Linked DNA regions of Homo sapiens: region 2 is linked to region 1. Evidence: promoter capture Hi-C in human tissues and cell types (Jung and others, 2019). All regions are on one chromosome and are shown on one strand. The core of a region is centred on a gene start or on the middle of the fragment in contact, and the rest is flanking DNA. Distances in the headings are between cores, read along the strand shown. Region 1 holds the start of GNG10 (G protein subunit gamma 10). Region 2 overlaps PTGR1 (prostaglandin reductase 1).

Region 1 (3,809 bases), core at 218-2,717:
TCTTTCTTCCTGTCTCAGAAGCTGTGCCACCAATCCCCCACCCCCCCGTAGCCCTGTCTCCTCTACCAGCAATTGGCTTCCATTTGTTTCTTCCCTGGAACCTAAAAATATAATTTGTTACTTCCTCTCAACCCTAAAACATGGCTTTTCATTTCCTAAGTTAAAAAAACACGTTATTTCCTCTTTAAAACTAGGTTTCTTTAAAAAGAAAAAACGTCTGCCTACCCTATGACAGTCCAGATTCTGCTTTTACTAACACATAAGCCACCAGACCTCTGCATTCCACAGCCCTCTCTCCCTTTACCCTGTTTATTATCTTCACTCCACTTAGTACATGAAGCGATGCTATGTATCCGTTAAGTTGCTGTTTACCTTCCCCTCCAGAACCACCCTATTCCCTGTAGCAGTGCCAGGCACACAGCAAAGGAGAAACTGAGGCACAGGGACTATCCTGGTTGTGTTCCTTCTTACAGATCTTCTGCAAATAATGCTGCACTCGTAGCTAAACACAGCTCTACAACAGACGCCTTTTAGCCAACTGACTAAACGCTGGACATGTTGACTGAGCCCCCAGTTTTTGGAAATCCCTACTTCCTTGCTCGGAAACCTTGCTGTCTCTTATTTCCTCTTCTCTAGGCCTTGCTCGGAAACCTTGCTGTCTCTTATTTCCTCTTCTCTCGGCCACCGGCCATCGGTGTGGCTGGTCCCCGGGTCCCAGGCTCTGAGCTCTGCTCTTCATAGAAGAGGCTTTTTCGCCCCAATGCACTTGAATGACCTCTTTCAGCCCTGGGCGCTGAGCTTCAGGCCATGAGGACAAATACCTCCCGGATGACTCCCCGGAGTCCCCAGGTCCGCAGCCGAACTCATCATTTCCCCAAACCTGTTCCCCCTCCTCTCTACCTCGGCGGGTGGCAGCGCCGTCCACCCTGTCACGACGACAGAAACCCGAGCATCCTGGCTCTCCTCCCTCTCGCTCTCATCCTACCAATCCATCACCAATTCGCCGCCCTGCGGTGGCCTCCCCAGCCCTGGGTCCACCCTCCCGGCCCGCGCGTCGCCGGCATCCCTTGCGCCCTCCGAGGAACTGACCACGGCCGCCTTCTGGAGTGGGCGCACCCCCAGGGACCGGGACCGACCACGACCGCGGGGCCCCCCAGGCGCGGCTTCCTCCCGTCAGGCCCGGGCCCCCGGCTTGCCCCGCGCCCTCCCTCACCGCGGACCCCACCGCCCCCGCGCCCCGCCGAGGCCTCGCCGCCGCCACCGAGTCCCCCGCTGGCGCCCGGTCCGGGCCGCCGGCCTCCTCTTCTCACGCCCCGCGGGCGGAAGGACCGGAGCGTGGGTACCCGGGGCCCGCACCTTGATCCTCTCCACGCCAGCCTCCAACTTGAGCTGCTCTACCAAGCGCTGCAGGGCGCTCGCGCTAGCCCCGGAGGACATGGCGGCGGCGCTGGGCTCCTAGGGGCTGCTGGGCCCGGCCGGGCGGGGAGGAGCCGCCAGCCCCGAGCGCGGGTGCCGCCCCGGGGCGGGGAAGCAGCTGCGCCCGCCCCGCCGCCCCAGCCCACCCGGCGCGGAGCCGCTTGCCAGAGACAGCGGGGACCCCAGCGAGCTGGCAGTGCTCTCCGCTCCTCAGCGCCTGAAACCTGGGTGGCACCTGCAGCTGGGCCTGGAACCGAGGCGGGGACCCGCAGAGCGCGGCGTCCTCCAGCGAAGCTGGCGCCCCTAGGATGAGCAGGAATCGCGAGGGCGTGGGACGCGAGGATGGAGTGGGCGGCAGCAAACACGCACCCCTGAGAAATGAGAACTGGAGCCAAGGTGTGACATGAGTTGGAGAGATAAGGGGCCTTGCCAGACAGTATCACCGGGGAACCAAGGAGAGTTCATAGGATTTTCATGAGGCAGCAACAGGTTTCTAAATGACCCTGTTACTGTTTCACGGAGATCCTACCAGTTGATTTGGTGGAGTATGGTAAATTGGATAAAATCCCAGACCCTGACATCTTTGTGAAACATACAGAATAAAATTAAATTCAGCGTTTCTCACTCTCATCTCACCATTTAACTGTCATCATTGTTTCTATTCTGCTGCTTTTTTTTTTTTTTTTTTTTTTTTTGAGACAGGGTCTTGCTCTGTCACCCGGGGTGGAGTGCAGTGGCGTGATCACAGCTCCTTGTAGCCTCCACCTCGTGGGCTCAGGTGATCCTCCTGCCTCAGCCTCCTGAGTAGCTGGGACTACAGACACACACCACCACGCCCGGCTAATTTTTGTATTTTTAGTAGAGACGGGGTTTCACGATGTTGGCCAGGCTGGTGTTGAACTCCTGGGCTCAGGTGATCCTCCCACCTCAGCCTCCCAAAGTGCTGGCATTATAGGCCTACTGCATTTTTTAATAAGTGTTTTACAAAACTGGGATCGTTACTATATTTAAAATTTTTGTGTTGCTTTTTTCCATGTATCATTAATACGTCATTATTCTTGTACACCATTGTATTTGTCAGAACTCACTTAAACTGAATATTGCAAAAGGTAATATATTGGCTTGTGTAACTGAAAAGTCCAGGGACTTTAAACTAGTGAATTCAATTACCCAAATAATAATTTTGGGGCTCTCATCCTCCTTGTTTTGATTCTGCTTTTCCTGAGATTAGCCTCATTTTCCTTGGTGGTAGATGGACTTCTCTAGTGGTATGAAGGAAGGCACCACACTTTCACTGTCCCCATCTAGCAAACCCAGGAAAAATAGTACCTCTTTTCTTTCTAATCGTTCCAGCAAAAATCCCCATAATGAACCTCACTGGCTGGTATTAAGTCATGGGCCCACCCCTGGCCCAATTACTCTTTGAAGGCAAGGATGTGTGGCATTGACGTGCTCAGATTAGCTGTGCCTGGGCCAAAGGGAGACTTGCACATTTGAAAGCCCTCTCTAGTGGCCAATTTCCTCACCACAAAGAAATTAATATATATCTTAGTAAAGAGATGAAAGTACATGTTGGGAACATTCAACAATCAATTCTGAGACTGATGAATAGGACAAAATAGAATGATTTCATATTTAAAAGATATGGCAAAGAACTCAGTGCAAAGATATACATACTGGATTAGGAAAGGCTCATCATAGATCGTGAGAGCTGGACTTTGGAGATACGTGTCTTGCAGATGGCTCAGAAGGAAGAACAGTCCAGTATGGAGGACAGCTGGAGGCGATGCACACATGTAGAGTGAATAAATTTAAAAATAGAGGAAGCTCTAGTGACTAATAGCAGATACAAAGTTGCTAGGGCCAGAAGTCATAGAAAACCTCACATACACACAAAAGTTTATGGTAAACAGTGGGATAGCCACAGGGTAAGGCATTTTGGGAATATTAATCTGAGATGAATGTGCAAAATGAACTGAAGTTGAGAAGATAAATGGCTGATGGTGGGGGAGTAGCTGGAATGAGGCCCTGGGTAGGACTGTTAGAGTAGGAATGAGGGGGAACAAATTTAGAAGACAAAATCAGTGGTACTTCATGGTGGTTATGAAATGCAAAGAAAAGAGGACAAAGGGTTCTGTAGCAGAGAGTGGGCCAGAACTAATGCCAAAACAGAAATTAGGAAACAAGACTTGGCTTGAGATGAGTAAAAAATAATGTGGGGTTTGGTTTAGGAGTAACGAAGTGACTTCCATGGCATTGCTACATGCCTTTAGGCTGCTGAAAATGTTTAGTAGCCAAGATGTTAATGTGAAGATGTCTCCACAGCAATGGCAGCTGAAATAATGAGATTACCTCAAAATCATTAGAAATGAAGGCTTTGGAGTTGCCCTCAA
Region 2 (3,569 bases), core at 707-3,206, 82 kb after region 1:
CTGTCTTTGTTTAATCCTGCCTGCAACTTAGTTAGCCATTATAATCTGAAGACCAACGTTTTTCTTCAGATGAAGAACAGTTTTCTTCTTCTATTTAATTATTTTTTTCATCTATTCTGTTTTCTTCATGAGGAATGGTATATGTTCATTCTGTTTCCCTTAGGACTATTCTTGTATGCTCTCTTTGCTCTCATAATTACATCTTTTGTACTTTTTCCTCTGAATTCTGTACTTTCTTAATCTGGTCCTCCAATTGAATTACATGACTTGCAGCAGCATCAGTTTCTAGATTAGCAATTAAGTTTTTCATAGCTGAGGCTCCTCATATTCTAGGATTGCTTCCTTTCCCCATAACCTGCACTTGTTGACTAATGCAGTATCCTTTTGAATTTCACTGAGAAACTTGAAACAGTATGAACACATCTTTTAAAATATCTTCTCTTCCCTGTAGAAATTCCACTGGAGACTGCCATGCTAAGGAATTTATACTCAATCCTTAAAGAAGTAACATGATTGGTTCTGCTTTTTAGAAACATCACTTAGGCCTTGGTAGGAGAATAGTTCCTAGGGACGCTATGCTAGAAACAAGAAGTCCACTTAGGAGGCTCTTACAATAATTCAAATGAAAATTTTGATGCATCGACAAAGATTGGAAGTCAGAGTCAGCTTTTTTTTTTTTTTTTGAGATGGAGTTTCGCTCTTGTTGTCCAGGCTGGAGTGCAATGGTGCGATCTCAGCTCACCGCAACCTCTGCCTCCCAGGTTCAAGCTATTCTCCTGCCTCAGCTTCCCGAGTAGCTAGGATTACAGGCATGTGCCACCACGCCTGGCTAATTTTGTATTTTTAGTAGAGATGGGGTTTCTCCGTGTTGGTCAGGCTGGTCTCGAACTCCCGACCTCCGGTGATCCACCCACCTCAGCCCCCCAAAGTGCTGGGATTACAGGCGTGAGCCACCGCGCCTGGCCCAGAGTCGGATTTTAAGGCTGTTTGGTTAAAAAAGAGGAAGAAAACCAGATGATTGGACATGGATCATAAGACAAAGGAAAGCTTCTCCTTTGAGCCATGTTTCAGGTTTGGATAACTGAGTGGTATCATTCTCTTATAATAGTGGATAGAAAAGAAATAAGTAAGAAGCAAGGAAAAAAGTATATTCCCTTTTGAACACACTATTTATGAGGGACCTACAGGACATCCAAGTGTGAGGACATCTATAGGTTGTTGGAAATACTGATTTGGAACTCAGGAGAAAAAAAATGGGCTAACATTAATAGATAGAATTAATAGATTAATTAATAATCTGCATAAAGGAGGTCATAAGAGTGAAAGAGATCATCCTATGATAGTCTATAGTCTTAGAAGGAAAAAGGACCAAGGAGGGCTCTCTTGCAATAGTTTTTTCTGGAATCATGAAGGAATGGAAAAAGCCTGTGGCCGTCACTATTTGTACAGAGATTCATGTAAATCCAACTGGGGTTTTTCCTCGATTGAAAATGCACAGTGGCACATATTCTGGTCTTCATAATACATTTAGAGTATAAGGGAGCTTTCTGAAAAGCTAGTTTCTATGAACCACTATAATCTGTAGTGTCATCCTGAAAGTGCTTTTCAGAATGCTTCCTAGCTCCTCTGTGATTAGGAAGCGTGTAGTCTGGTGCTTTGGACTAAATCAAAGGATAAAGGGGGCCTGGTGCAGTGGCTCATGCCTGTAATCCGAGCACTTTAGAAGGCTGAGGCAGGAGGATCACTTGAGCCCAGGAGTTCAAGATCAGCCTGGGCACTTTAGGAGGCCAAGGCAGAAGGATCACTTGAGCCTAGGAGTTCGAGATCAGCCTGGGCAATATAGTGAGACCCTGTCTCTGTGAAAATTTAAAAAATATAAGGCCAGATGTAGTGGTATGCACCTGTGGTCCCAGCTACTTAGGAGGCTGAGGTGGGAGGATCACGAGCTTAAGAGGTCAAGGTTGCAGTGAGCCATGTTCGTGCTACTGCACTCCAGCCTGGGCAACAGAGTGAGACCATGTCTCAAAAAAATATAAACATTTAAAAAATCAAAAAAGGATAAGGGGGCAGTTACTAGGAGGGCTGTCTGTGATGTGGGAGTCACAGAGCTGAGACAAAATAATAGTCTGAAGAATGACTGTACCAAGAGATGGCATACACTGCATTGCAAGGAAGAGAAGCCCAGAAACAAAGAACCAAGGAAGTCAAATGGATCGGTTGTGAAACCAGCTGGTGGAACTATGAACCAAATAAATGCAGAAGGGACCTGCTGGGTGGTCAGAAGCAAGCTGAAGCTGAGTTGTAGGATGGTCCGGGGACTGATTTCACCTATGGGATCTGTTGGCCCATTATGGTATTCCTTTTATATGTGGCTCAGCACCTAAGAGAGTGTTCCTAGGGAACCTAGGCATACGAGACCAGGAAAGTAGTGTTGGTCCATGCTTGTGACTTATTCATGGTTTCCTTTTTTTTTTTTTTTCTACTTAGGGCTGCAAAGTTGTTGGAGCAGTAGGGTCTGATGAAAAGGTTGCCTACCTTCAAAAGCTTGGATTTGATGTCGTCTTTAACTACAAGACGGTAGAGTCTTTGGAAGAAACCTTGAAGAAAGCGTCTCCTGATGGTTATGATTGTTATTTTGATAATGTAAGTACAAACTGGACTTAATATCTAATTTATTATGGAAGTACTATATAAAGCAGGAGTCTCCTACCCCTGGGCCATGGATGGTTAGTGGTCCATAGCCTATCAGGAACTGGGATGCACAGCAGGAGGTGAGGGGCAGGTGAGCAAGCAAAGCTTCATCTGTATTTACAGCCCTTCCCCATTGCTCCCATTACTGCCTGAGCTCCGCCTCTTCTCAGAACAGTGGCAGCATTAGATTCCCATAGAAGTGTAAACCCTGTTGTGAACTATGCATGTGAGGGATCTAGGTTGTGCGTTCCTTATGGAGATCGCACTACTCAGGTGCCTGATGATGCCTGATGCCTAATGATCTGTCACTGTCTCCCATCACCCCCAGATGGGACCGTCTAGTTGCAGGAAAACTCACCCACTGATTCTATGGTTATGGTGAGTTGTATAATTATTTCATTGTATATTACATTGCAATAATAATAGAAATAAAGTGCACAATAAACACAATGTACTTGAATCATCCTTGAAACCATCCCCCCAACAATCGATGGAAAAATTGTCTTCCAATGAAACTGCTCCCTGGTGCCAAAAAGGTTGAGGACCGCTGATACAAGGGAATATATTCCTAGAGTTTCCATTTTGGGGTACATGAAGAAAGTATATATGCCTTTTTTAAAAAACAGCTTTATTGAGATATCATTCATGTACCATGTAATTCACTCATTTAACGTGTAGAAGTCAATGTTTTTTACTATATTGGCAAAATTGTACAACCAGTTTAAGAATATTTTCATCACCCCCCCCAAAAAACGCTACTCATTAGCAGTCACTCTCCATTACCACCCTCCTCCCCACTAAAAGTGGTCTCTTATGACTGGCATCTTTCACTTAGCAAAATGTTTTCAAGTTTCATCCATATCATAGAATTTATCAGT

The links. Contacts are between HindIII fragments. The study calls those that stand out against the background at their distance.
Region 2: a fragment that was not itself captured here is called in contact with the fragment with the promoter of GNG10 in region 1 in 2 of the 25 tissues and cell types used here (heart left ventricle and pancreas).

The regions. Positions count from the first base shown.
Region 1 is chr9:111,659,263-111,663,071 of GRCh38, reverse strand. GNG10 (G protein subunit gamma 10) reads right to left here and starts at 1,467. Exons shown (of 3, transcript NM_001017998.4): 1 at 1,357-1,467. The coding sequence starts at 1,437. All of the region lies in intron 1 of DNAJC25-GNG10 (DNAJC25-GNG10 readthrough), which reads right to left. RefSeq lists enhancers at 407-456, 657-756, 1,827-1,886 and silencers at 1,047-1,166, 1,197-1,646. The HindIII fragment of the contact is 18,619 bases long and covers 1-3,809 here.
Region 2 is chr9:111,577,870-111,581,438 of GRCh38, reverse strand. PTGR1 (prostaglandin reductase 1) reads left to right here. Exons shown (of 10, transcript NM_001146108.2): 7 at 2,488-2,643. It also overlaps a transcript of ZNF483 not described here. Among named protein-coding and RNA genes, the nearest start is that of PTGR1, 20 kb to the left of the region's middle. The HindIII fragment of the contact is 3,979 bases long and covers 1-3,569 here.